Regions from separate parts of the Homo sapiens genome. Here all the other regions are linked to region 2. The links are contacts of gene promoters, found by promoter capture Hi-C in blood cells and fetal thymus (Javierre and others, 2016). All regions are on one chromosome and are shown on one strand. Each heading gives the region's core, a stretch centred on a gene start or on the middle of the fragment in contact. The rest is flanking DNA. Distances are from core to core; before and after follow the strand shown.

The links. Contacts are between HindIII fragments. The CHiCAGO score rates a contact against its expected background, and 5 or more counts as called.
Region 1: a fragment that was not itself captured here is called in contact with the fragment with the promoter of SIM1 in region 2 in 1 of 17 cell types (endothelial precursors); the score reaches 9.9 in endothelial precursors.
Region 3: a fragment that was not itself captured here is called in contact with the fragment with the promoter of SIM1 in region 2 in 1 of 17 cell types (endothelial precursors); the score reaches 8.8 in endothelial precursors.

Annotation. Positions count from the first base shown.
Region 1 is chr6:100,144,273-100,148,449 of GRCh38, forward strand. No RefSeq gene overlaps it. Among named protein-coding and RNA genes, the nearest start is that of MCHR2, 150 kb to the left of the region's middle. The HindIII fragment of the contact is 346 bases long and covers 1,804-2,149 here.
Region 2 is chr6:100,463,585-100,468,175 of GRCh38, forward strand. SIM1 (SIM bHLH transcription factor 1) reads right to left here and starts at 1,337. Exons shown (of 12, transcript NM_005068.3): 1 at 1,030-1,337; 2 at 1-351. RefSeq lists an enhancer at 4,069-4,591. The HindIII fragment of the contact is 823 bases long and covers 1,219-2,041 here.
Region 3 is chr6:100,190,916-100,195,412 of GRCh38, forward strand. No RefSeq gene overlaps it. Among named protein-coding and RNA genes, the nearest start is that of MCHR2, 200 kb to the left of the region's middle. The HindIII fragment of the contact is 1,990 bases long and covers 1,485-3,474 here.

The sequences.
Region 1 (4,177 bases), core at 727-3,226, 320 kb before region 2:
GATTGAGAATTTTTCTCAAATACTTAAGAAAAAGTACTACAAATGAAAAGTTGGAGACTCCGACAGGAATTAGGCAGAGTGGCCGGGAGCGGTGGCTCACGCCTGTAATCCCAGCCCTTTGGGAGGCAGAGGCAGGCGGATCACGAGGTCAGGAGATCAAGACCGTCCTGGCCAACATGGTGAAACCCCGTCTCTACTAAAATACAAAAAATTAGTCGGGTGTGGTGGCACATGCCTGTAGTCCCAGCTACTCAGGAGGCTGAGGCAGGGGAATTGCTTGAACCCAGGAGGCGGAGGTTGCAGTGAGCCTAGATCGCGCCACTATACCCCAACCTCGTGACAGAGCAAGACTCAGTCTCAAAAAATAAAATATAGATAAATAAATAAATAAATATTTTTTTTAAAAAAAGGAATTAGGCACAGTAAGCACCCTGCCTAGGGCCCAATATACTTTTAGGGGCACACAAAAAAGGGCTAAGTTCTTTTAAAAATCAGAAGGAAAAGTGAATGTTATATAATAATGAATATATAAAAATGAATCAAGCCTGAATTATCTTTATACCAACAGATTTGCAAAACATAATTTTTAAGATTTTTTGGAGGCAGAGGCCTACAAGAGTAAATGTGCCTAGTGCCTATGGAAAAGGTGGCCCTAGAACTAACCCTGCAAAGTTTTGAGAAATATTAGGTCAAAGTAATCTCCACAGAAGTTTGCTCAGTGCCAAGCACAGATGATTTCGGGAACTGACAGGGAGACACACTGGGTTGAGACTAGAAGGAAGAAGAGGCTCACCAAAAAAACCAGTAAGACCCTGACCACTCTGCATCTGTGAAAATCCAATGGCACTGTCTTGATGTCTTTCCATGTGTAAAACTCTCACATAATTAATGCTCACAGTAATGCCCTGAGGCAGGATTTCTTATTTCCTTTTTACAGATGAGAAAGTTGGAACTTAGAAAGATTGGGTAACTCACCAATGTTACAGGTTAGAAATGGAGGCATAGTCAGACCTGGATCTGTTACTATGAGCTGCCAGTCCTTTCTCTTGTCAAGTTAACATGCATCACAACACACAACTAGAAAATCAAATGGGCGTCATTTTCACTTACCCCACACCACCCTTACCCAACTCCTCATCACCTCACCAAGGCCCTTCTTAGGTTTCTAAGCCAATGCTCATTCAGTTTTGCAAGTTACTTCTTAAACATACAGTGACATCTTTAATAACTACATTTGCAAATCCAAATTTCTTTGATATTGTAAGAAAAGAGCATTTGTCTTTGAATAGAAGCTCTTTCATTGGCTGAATCTGTTCCTTTAAATAATTTAGATCCCCTTAATATAAACTTATGAGATATAAAACTTTCTAAGGCTTTTTAATCTAAAAACTGGATTTACTCTTAGGGGATGTAGTGGAGAAGTGATGATGAGTAATTAAAGGTCATTCTCAAACAAAAATATGTATTTAGAATCAGGTCTTCTAGATTGACCAAAACATATGTGGCAATGTATACTTTGATATTATAATTGCTTGGAGTTTATTTTAGGAGACAATTCTCCAGAGAGTTGATGGATATCTTTGTGCATTATCCTATTCCTTGGCCTTTCTTACTGTGTAGTTAAAGGATATTAGGATTGCTCAATCAGAAAAATGATAGTATTATTAAAACAAATGGAGAATTTTTTATTCTACAAAATTTCTCCTAGGGAGAACATCATATATTTTTAGGAAAAGACACCATTTGGACAAACTTCTTAGTATGGAAGATGAGATCCCTATGGGTTAATTAATCATCCTACAAAGCTTGTGGGACTTGTCCCTCTAGCCCTATGGCTGAAAGCCCTATATGCCGGGTTTGAGTATACCATGTTGGCATGGAAGATGGGCAGAGTTGAATGGCTCTGCACAAAAGATGGGGGAATGATTTGAAGTTTCCAGGAGAAGATCCAAAAGGAAAGAAGAGTAAAAACTAGCCAGAATGATCAGAAAGAGAGAAGAGTTGCGGGTGTCTGAGAAAGGAGCTTGGGAGATATTTTTTTATATATATAATTTTTATGTTGTTTTCTATGAAGTTTGCAAAGCAAATCTCCTTTTTCTCTCCTCAAGGTCTTCAGTAAAGTCTATCTTAATAATGCTTTTGAGAGGGAAGCTTCTTTTCAAGGAACTGCAAAAGGTGCTGAGGAAAACCCAGAGGCTGCAGACCTGGAGGCAGGAGCTGTAGGGCCAGGAGCAGAAATACCTTGGTCCCATTTAAATTTTACTCCAAAGGCAATACCACATGTTGGGAAAAGCAAAAGCATCCACATCCTGGCCCAGCACTGAATATAGAAGGAAATTAATGTTTCTGACAGGGAAATTATTTAAAAGGTCAGGGAACATTTTTCTCTAAAATTCTAAAAACAAAAAACTAAAATATACTAAAGAGATTCATTTTCCCTAGTGATTTTTAAATCAATATTATAATCATATAAAGCCTGTTGGTATGACTTTATTTTGATATATGTAAGGATTTTAATAATGTTATGATTCAAGTCAACATTGTAGATAAATACTGATTTTTGTCCAGTGATTTTTATTATTACTATAATAATAAAGATGAGATATTATTTTATTATCAATCTTTTGGGAGGACAACATATCAAACACTGATATGACTAGGACAGATGATTATGATAATTCCCCTCTAAGTGACTTAGGTACAAATCCTTGGTGTGGTGCACAAATGTTTTCCACACCTGCTTCTATTATTTAGCAGTGTACTCTCCAAATAAACTATTTCATAAGATTTAAGTTGTTTATTTAGTCCCTTATGTTTTCCTTTGGAACTCAGCAGATTACTCTGAATAGGTCTAAGCTGGCAAAGTAAACAATTAATAGAGACATATAATCTTGGTAATACATGTGTCCAAAACCTCTTCTTTTTCCTCATATAGCTGGTCTTTATGAGAATTACTGTAGGTCTCCACTTTCTTTATTTTACAAAATAGCCAAGAAGATAGTTGAGTTTTAGCATGTAATCCCTGGAGCTCTGTTTGCTTTCCTGAAATGACCTGAAACCACTGGGTTACATCTAATTAATATGTTGTTGGCAGAACACACTAAACAGAAGTTGTCAAAACCAAGTGATTAGAGATTTAGACTCAGGGTTTAATTACATGTGTGGCTTCCCAAGAGTTACTGCAAAGAATATAACTGCTTCAAGTCTGTGAGATCCAAGGTTATTTTTTAAAAGCCTCATTAGTAAATTTTTTAAAAATCATAGAGTATGCTGACAGCAAATATTTTCAAATGCAATTTCTTTTAATCTTGTCAAGTAGTAAATATTTGGTGTTTCATAAATTTGAAACCTCTTCCCATAAAAATGAAAGAGAGCTGTGAGATGAAACATTCTCTCAATAGTTTTGACCTAAAAGTTTTGATAAGAAAAAGCAAACTTTGGGGCCCATATTATTCAAATTGACTGTCTACATTAATAAAGCTCACCGGGTAAGCGGGGCTTTTTTACTTATCCAATGTAAACACACTCATAGCCCAATATCTTTGCAAATTTCACACTATATTTGCCAACCATAAAATCTCTGCAAACATTGGACAGAATCACCTCTTGCTACCTGGTAACGATGTTTATAAATGTATTTATTCAGATAAGATGACAAAGTGCATTTAAAAAATATTTCTCAGAAGAGATTTTAGAAATGTTTTTTAGCAATCTGAAATCTTCATTCCCTGTTCTGCATAGATGCTGCCAATGGCTAGATATGCAAAAATGGGGAAAAGTCTGAGGTAGTTAGTCAAATAATTTTTATTATCATTATTTTGCAGAATGCTTTCATAAGATACATGAATGTAACTGAGGCAAAGTGTGTGTGTGTGTGTGTCTTTTTTAATCATTAACTTTTGGAATACACGTATGACCATACTGTCAATGTGACCTGAGGACTCTGTAAGTTCCTTCCATTTATTTAGGGTTCATTTGAAGCAATTTTGTTCTCCACTCTGTGGTGCTAGCTCCATCTAACTTTTTGTCTGCCTCAGCAGTGGAGCTTATCTGGATTCTGCTCTAAGACAATCCCATGAGATTTTACCAGTGACTAAGGTTCAGTTCTTCCATTTGTCTTATCCTTGGCCTTTACCTACTTGGGGTCTGGAGCTGGGGGTCAATCCTATGTGATTTC
Region 2 (4,591 bases), core at 87-2,586:
AAGAGGCTGAAGTATTTGCACCAAGAACAGTGTATTGATGGCAGTAAAAGACCAGCGGGGGTGAACGGAAAATATGTTCTTTGAAAATTCGGGATGCAGTATAGGAAAGTTGCTGATCCACCGAATTTGGGCGATCCACCGAATTTGGGCAATCCTGAGGGTCGTTCAGGGTATCAAATGCCAGTGGGACCCCTGAGGAGCCAGCCTTTTCTTCTACTGCCAGCTGCGAACCCTGGTCCTCGGAAAATCGACATAATAATCCCTGACGTTTGCTCTTCAGTCTCGCGGCATTTAAGGTATCTCCGAGCCCCTTTGGGAAGAGCAGGAACCCCAGACAACTCTTTCAAGGCCCTGTGAAGACAACAGCATCAGAGCATAAGAGATCAGCGGCTCCACAAGTACTCACACACTCGTCCCAATTCCAAAAACACGGCCGGAAAGGGCCTCAGTGCGCCTAGCCAGGCGTTTTGGGTTTGTTTTTAAAGAAACGGGTAAATCGGCAGCGAGACAGCCCCCTGCAAATAATGCTGGCATTCCCTCACCCATGCCAGCCGCATCCTCCAGACCCCTGGGAAGTTGCCCAAACAACAAAATACATATTTCTGAAGACCCGCAAGGGATCTTCCGCCGCGGATCCCCGAGTCCGCGCCCAGGCCGGGCGCACGTCCCAGGAAAGCAGGTTTCCGCAAATCAGAATTCCTCCAAGGCGAGGCAGGGGCCTTTCAGCTCCCTACCTTGGCAGATCTGGACCTTGGCTACCTCTTTAACTTGGGTCTCAAGTCTGAGGGATTCCTCAAAAAGTGACACTTACACACCAAGTCTCTCGGGACTCCCAAGGCGACCCAGCGCTCTGGCTGCCCAGCAGGGGCTGCAACAAGCGGGGCCCAGCAGCGCCAGGTTAACAGGTGGCGCGCTCGCGACAGCCCCTCGCAGGCTCCCCCGGGGGTGGGAGGCGCCGCGGCCTCTCCCACACCACCGCGGAGCTGCGGGGCTGCTGGGCGGGCGCGGGGCGTCTTCTGCTTCACCTACCTTCAGTCCCCACAAGCGGCAGAGGTTTCGGGGGCGCCCATCTCTTAACTGTTCTCATGCCTACCGTCCAACCCAGCGACACCGCCGGCCTCTCCGCTTCCCACCGGCAGAGAGGAGCAGAGCATTCCCGGCTCCCTTTTCTGGATCATGAATTGGAGGAGGGGTGCGTGGCAGAAAGAGGAGGATGCAAGCTTTGGGACGAGTGAGGTGATTTTAGAATCCTGGTCCTCCGTAGTTGCTACGAAGCCAGTTCACTATTATTCCTAATTGGAAGCCGAAAACTGCCCCCCGTAACTTCTTTATAGCTTAAGGGTTTAGCTTCAACTTCACTCCGGGGCCGCCTCTCTCCCGCCCTCCCTCAATGCCACTCACAAGCCCCCTCGCCTCCCATTGGCCTGGCGCGGCCAGGGGCGAGGCGCTCATTGGCCAATAGGGCTGAGTGACACGAGTCGGCCCCGAGCCGCCCTCCGCGCGCCCAGGCTCCGGGCTCTGAATCTTACTACCCGCGGGACCGCTGGACTCCTAATGAGCTCAGGGTGCCGGGTCGGCGCTGTCCGGTTGCCGCCGCTGCTCGCGGCCTCCTGGGCCTTCCCGACGTCGTGCGCGACCCGCGCTCCTCGAGCTCCCTGGGGTCGGGTGGTTGAGCGCTCAGTCCAGCGCGGCGGCCCAGCAGAACCGGGAACGTCCGGAGGCAGCGGAGGTCGGGCCTGCGGGTTAGGTCTACCGGCGGAGGAGGCAGGGTTCGCCCAAAGGCCCATCCCGCTGGCAGTCGCTGGCCGACGGCGTGCGCGAGGCCGGTTTGGGGAGTTATTTTCTCTTTCTCGTTTCTCTGAAACCATGGCGACACGGAATTCATTGCCAGAGGAAATAAATACAATAACTGTCTTTAAATTAATCCCAAAGAAGTGCGTCTTTTTCGAAATGGCTTGGGTTTGGGGCTGATTTTTTTCACCGTGGAAACTCGGCCGGGGAGTTTTCCTATGGGGAGCAGCTAGGGGGACACTAGGGGAAAAGCTTACATTTCAGGGCAAAATAGAATGATTGATATAGAGATACATAGCTCCCAACAGTCCTTTATCTTAAACATTAGCCAACTCTTTGTCGGGTTTTGTTTCAGGAAACAAAAGTCCAACATGATTATTCCTTACAGAAAGGATACAGTCTACATGAATGAACTTAACGATGCTCGCGGTTCCCTAATAGGAGCTGTTTAAACAAACGCTCACCAGGACTCTTGCTGACTAATTATCTTTTAGAGACCCTCTAATTTGAACCGCCTTCTCTTTCTCTCATCTGAGAAAACACAACAGGTAGCATCAAGAAAAAGTCAAATTGTCCCAAAAACAATTGTTGTCCTCACGAATCACCCCCTACAGACTCGACTCCCGGCTTGGTTTTGGTACGCCGGTGACCAGATTCGGCTCCTAGAGGTGCGTTTGGAGGGAGTTGTTTCATCTACCATAAAAATCAGTGAGAACACCAGTGACGGGGCACTCATCCTCTCGTTTGTGGCGCTAATTGCCACTGAGAAAATAAATACTTTGAAGAGGGGTGTGTGCCATTCTGCTGATATTCAGAACAACTTTAAGAGTGTTTGTTCAAAAATACAGACATCTGCCACCTCCTTGCCGCCCGATGGCAGTAAGATAGTCGTAGAAGGACAACAGCAGCTTTCTGGTGTTATTTACATATCTGGGCAACACCTGGCTGGAGGAGGTGAAAGTTTTGGATAGAAAGAAAAAGAAAGAAGCACGGAGATTTTGTAGGTCTTTCAAAACTGGAATCCAGCTAATGGACTCTAATCTAGGAGGAGTCATTTCCCCAGTGGCTGTAGCCACTTAGAGATCTGGTTCTGGGCGCCTTCCAACCACCCAATGATGCGCTTTTAACAAGACATAGCTAGAAGATAGCGAGAGATGCACTGTGGCTCACTTATACACAAGATTCCAGAAAGATCAGATAAGGTCAAGTTGGCTACTACATGTAAAGTCGGGGGTGGAGGGTGCGTGTGGAGAGGGGAAATAACCTTTCTTGACCCTCCTCTCCCCTCCAACCAGGTCACATATAGCTGCCAGGCGAAGCAATGACACTTAGGGTTAAGAGGAGGTTTTCCATTCGACTGTGTTCTAGAGAGGATTTCAGTCAAGACCGCGGTTACTCTAACCCTATCTCTACTTAAAACAACATGCCGGTGTGGAAGTGCCTCTCTGGGGTTTGAAACCTGTGTCCACAGCAGGGACTTCCGGGGGGTGGAGGTAGGGAGTCAGGTAATGCTGGGTTTCCAGAAGAAAAAATGCAGTAATTTTGCCTTCAGAAGCAAGATGGGCAAAATGAGTAAGGAAGTCTTCACGCTTAAGGCTGACGTCCTGGGGGGCTGGGCGGGCTGTTCCAATGTCCCAGTGAAGCTCAGTTGTCAATGAGCCAAGTAGATGTCGTTTAATAAACAAAGTGAATGCACGACCACGAGGTGACGGCCTCTCGCTAAGTCCTCAGCACACAACTGTCTGAGCCGCGTTTACCGAGAGAGTGAATTAGCATGACGACGTAACACCTGTTTTTCTAATCTTTGAACCTAGGTTGGAGCCGGAACGCTGCTCCTTCACTCCCCCTCCCGGGCCCAGGGACCTGGCTTTGCACCCTCCCCACGACCCCGCCTGCCAGCCCCCCACGCGCCCTGTAGCCGGAGGCGTGAACCGTGAACCGGAACCTCAGGTGCCTCCCACGTGTTCTGCGAATTTACGTTCGCCTCTAGCACGGGAAATTTTAAATGAATTTCTTGAAGCTCAGAGACTAATCGTTTTGCCAATATAAGGAGAAAAGCCCCAGAAAGGAAGAGACGGTCACGGGCGACCCACTAACCCCAAATAGAGATCCTTATAGAGTCTAGGCCGCCACCTCCTTGAGCCGGTGGCCTTAAAACCTAGCCTCTGGCCCTCAGGCACCCAGAATGCGATCCTGATGTGGGAGAAAACCCATGCGGGGCTGCAAAAAAGTGTCTCCCTCCTTCCCCCACCAAGCAGGGCGAACAGCCTAGTGTGATGGCGACACTGTTCCCCCAAGAGTCCCTGCCACTTCTGGGGCAACCCAGGATGCTGCCCTCATGGAGCCTGCCCCGGACCCCGGAGGCCAGGACATGCAGGCGTCCGTGACTCTACCCCAGGGGAGCCAGGCCGGGTAGATTCTGGAACCAACGCGCCTTTGTGAGCAATGTCTAGCATGCCGCGCGCACCCAGAAAGAAGGGGGAGCGGGCACCTCAAGGGCCTTCTGACCCCTCCCCGCAAAAGGCAAAATCAAGACTACAGAAGGTGAACTTTCGGTTGTAAAAGAACGAGTGAACACATACTGGAATTCCGGTGCAAACCGCCGAACCGGGGTTCAATGCCTCGGCCCCCGACCCTTGCTCTGGCACAGACCTCCACCCTGCCTTCCAAAAACTCCTCTAATGACTCTTCTTTGCTCCAGGCTGTTTGAGCATCTTATCAAAACTAGAATGATTTCTGTCCACCACCATTCTCTTTATTTTTTTGCAGACTGCTAGGGACGCACACATACACTTTTGCA
Region 3 (4,497 bases), core at 1,230-3,729, 270 kb before region 2:
CCACGAGCCTAGAAAAGCTGCCAGTTAATGCCAGGGACCCCAAAGCTGAAGGAAGATTTGCAGCTGTGACTGGCCTAGATTCTGGCAGTGCCAGGCTTGTGATCTGTTGGAGCTGTTGCTGCCTGTGCTGCCTCTTCTAGCATTTTTGAATTGGAAAAAAGATGGAACAGGGAAAGCTGGAGATCAGAAAAAGGAGGCTTGGCTCACATAATAGCTATTCCCTTAATCTATGCAGATTTGATATCTTCCCTTTCTTTAAACGATTCATTTCTGTGACCGTCACTCCCCCATTGCCAGCATTGACCCTAACAATTCTTTTTTGTCCTCATTTACATGGCCCTCGAACTTTAGAAATAAAACATTTAGAACAAAGCCATATTTCCCCACTTCCATAAAACTTTCCTGTTTGTGCAATGCTACCTATTAGAACACTCTAATCCAAAGAAAAGTGACTGAAAAAATTTAGATTACTCAAAATGGCATCTTGATTTTTATCAGTTGGCTTTATTCTGAAATTAGATTCTTACCTTGATCTATGTTGGACTGAAACCTCCTGCCCACCAAATAAGGTCATATTTAATCACCAAATTATGCCCTATGGTCGTGAAAATCACGACACTTGTTTTCATAGGCAGGCTCTCAAATGTCCAAATCTTAATTTGGCTAAATTATATCTGTTTGATATGTTTGTTGGTTTGTATTAAACTGAACTGAATGAGGAATGAGAGATCTGGTCCTTTACTTATTGTCACCATATGTAAACTATTCCATCTATAACCAAAAGAAAGACAACACACACATACACACACACACACACACACATACACAAACACACACACGTTAGTCATTACTCCACTCATTATTTGAGCGGCAATAAATTTATTAGTTTATTATTAACTTTATTATTCCCAGTTGAAAACCTTAAATCATATTATACAAATACATTCAATCTCTCAAATTAAATTTAGTAGGAACAAAATAAAACTTTATAGTTCATAGACTGAAAATCTTCTACATTCAAATAATAATTTTTGTAAAAATGTAAGCAATATTGTTTTTGCTGCCCAGCTTTAATTCTTTTAGGGACATGAAAGGAGGAGGTCACACCAAAAAAAAGTCAATTTACTTTTGAAATGTTTTCAAATGATGAGAGGAAGGGGACTATATTATAAAAACAGGATATTGAGCTCAAATGAAGATGAGTATAGCTGTGGCACCCAAGGGATGTTGGTTCTTGGAAGTAGAGTGGGGGCAGGTTTTATTTGAAAATATGTAATGAAGTTTGCCATAATACAACAACCTGGGGACTCTAATTAAGAGGTAGCATAATAATAATATTGATTTTTTAAACTATAATGATTTCTCTCTTGGCAAGCCCTGCAGGACAAATTACCAAAACTCCAGACAGCTCTTATTTTCCCTTTCTTCTGAGTAGATTCGATCATGAAGATCACTCATCCATTACCAACTCTCCATCTCTTAGAAGCTTCAGGAACATGCAGTGTGGCTTTCCTGGCCACCACCTCTTCAGCAGTGTTTTCTTTATGCTGTGACATAGCCATTTGTTCCCTGTTGCTAATCCATCTCTCCAGGAATGGTCCTAGAGATGCTTCCTCTCCATTGGGCACTATTCTTTGGTGGGGATAAGGTTCTTTCTTCAACCAGAGGTGAAATTCTCTGGACCAGAGGAAAACATGGAGCACACTTAAGGGTCCTAATCTCCAGCAGAAGCCCCAGCATTAAAGTTCTTTATTTGAGTCATTCTTTCCATTTTTTTACAGCAACCCATCTCTCTAAAGAAATATATACAGTCTTCTGCAAGGGTTATATGAAAGTAACATTGGTTTGTTCATTATTTCTTCATTATACAATGTTGATTTAGAACCTACTATGTGCCAACCTCCTTCTCACATCATTGATCAAGACAATAAGCTCCCCTAAATCTTATTTTCTAATGAAGGGAAGCTGGTAGGAAAAAAATAAATGCATTAAAATGATCCAAATAGTGACATATTCAATGTAGGAAATTAAGTATGGAAGGAGAATTTTCAAGGGAGTAGACATGCAGTGTCTTCAAATAGGTGGACAGGAAAAACATCTCTGAGGCCCACCGGTGCTGAGGCCTGGGAAAAAGCAGGTGGCAGCATGCTTGCTGCTTTCCTTTGAGAAGCAGAAGGTAGGTTAGTGTGGCTGGAGAACAGTGAGACAGAGAAGGGTGCAAAAGGAGGTCAAAGCAGTCCAGACCAGGGCCTAGGAAGCTATAGCAGGAAATTTGATTCTTGGTTAGCAGTAGTGTGAAAGAAGAATAACCATATCAGCTAAATCAATATGATTATATGACTAAGTCATTTGAAAAGAGAATTTGCCAATAGGTTTACATATCAGTGCATGGACTGAGCTAATGCCACACCTGAGCAATTGTCCACCTTAGCAATTACCACACCTTAGCATTTCTTAGAAAATGTATACAGAAAGAGTTTCAGGCACAGGCCAGCTGATGTTCCTATTCAAAGAAAAAGAGCAAGAAAAAAATAGAAATAAAATTATATCCTTTTTCAATAAATATGGCAAAAAGATAATATAATTTCATTTTTCAAGAGCAAGGTTACATGCATCGGTCTATGAATTGGTATAAGAAAGTATAGTTTCTACAAAATGTGTTACATACAGTAAAAATTTTCATTCATTTAAGCAATGCATGTCAATATCACTGAAAAACGTGCCAATGTGCAATGCCATGATGTACGCTAACCAAGAAAGCCCTAGGTTCAGCTGTCTTCACAAAGGAATAAGTCATAGTTTTGACCACTCTAACAAAAAGAACGTTTTTAAATAGAGCATGTCATTGGGCAAATTTTGTTCCATTAACTACTACTTCTGCCTATGAATGAATGCTTATACAAAAACTGTTGTTCTAACAGTTTGAGGTGATTGGAGAAAGGGATCTAAATTTTGTTTTCTTTATTTTTATTTTTATTTTTTTTTTGAGACAGAGTCTCTCTGTCGCCAGGCTGGAGTGCAGTGGCGTGATTCCGGCTCACTGCAACCTCTGACTCCCCGGTTCAAGTGATTCTCCTGCCTCAGCCTACCGAGTAGCTAGGAATACAGGCATACGCCACCACGTCCAGTTAATTTTTGTATTTTTAGTGGAGCCGGGGTTTCACCATGTTGGCCAAGATAGTCTTGATCTCCTGACCTTGTGATCCGCCCACCTTGGCCTCCAAAAGTTCTAGGATTACGGGTGTGAGCCACAGTGCCTGGCCTGAATTTTTATTTTCTCCATCACTTCATTCCTATTTGGAAAGCCAATAAGTAACAACAAATATTCTGAAGCACTCTAAGAGCTTGCCTGCAATGTTAAACCAATGAGTATTTAGGAAGAGAAATATAATCCACATGTTCTTGATTAACTTATAATTAAATCATTTGTAAGAGCCATTTGACGTCCAAAACGACTTGTAAGATTTTTTTATAAGCTTTGTTTCCTTAAAGCAAAAAGATCTATTATTGCCAAGAGTAAACAAAGCTTAAAGGCACATCTACTTTAACAACAACAACAACAACAAAGCCTAAAAAGCAAATAACCAAACAAAAAAAAAAAGCAACAAAAACAAAAGCCATTCAATAGCATGATGAAAATGCACTGTACCTCAAAAGTAGACAATACTCCGACTCCAGAGCCATGTACATTGACAATCCTCTTAAGTTTTGACCCAGATATAAATTGCTGGCCAATCTCACCTCATTTACCCTTTTATGATTGGATGGGTAGGACTTGGAACAGAAACTTAACTTTAAATGCAAACAGCTGCTACAACTGACCTAACCCCAAACAACTCCAGAACGCCTACTCTCAGACCTTGCTTTGATCTTGGACCATTAACAATAAGACTGAGAAATTTGTGACAGGGAGACAAATCGAAATTTTCCCACATATGTAATAAAAACAGAGTTCTTTTTTTTTAACTATACTTTTTACTATACTTTTTAAATTTACTTTGTTCCATGTAGGAACAAAGTAGGAAGTATTTATGTCACTCGGTATGGGACTTCAGAGTAGATGGTCCTAACCAACTCTAAAATTTAATAATCTTCTTGTGACCAGCTTGCCAATAGAAAAAGCATCTTATAGTTTGCCCTGTAAGTGAACTTGGGCAAAGAAACAAATATAGGGACAAAGATTCAGCAAGAAAGTTGAATCTTTTTCAAAAATAAAGAATATGATTGACAAATATTTAATGACTCCACATTTAGAATCGAATCATTGAATATGTTTTTGGTAAAGGATATATGTGAAACTTAACTCTAAATGTCCTATATTTTTAAAATAATGTATACAAAAACACATTTTTAAAACCAAATTGTTTACTATTCATGCTCAAAGTATTTGCAATTCACTAGAAACCTAAAAATACTATTTTCAAAAATTATTACATAACAAATTCCTATTCGTTGTAGAAAACTAGGAGATACAAATAAATTTAAAGAAATAAATTC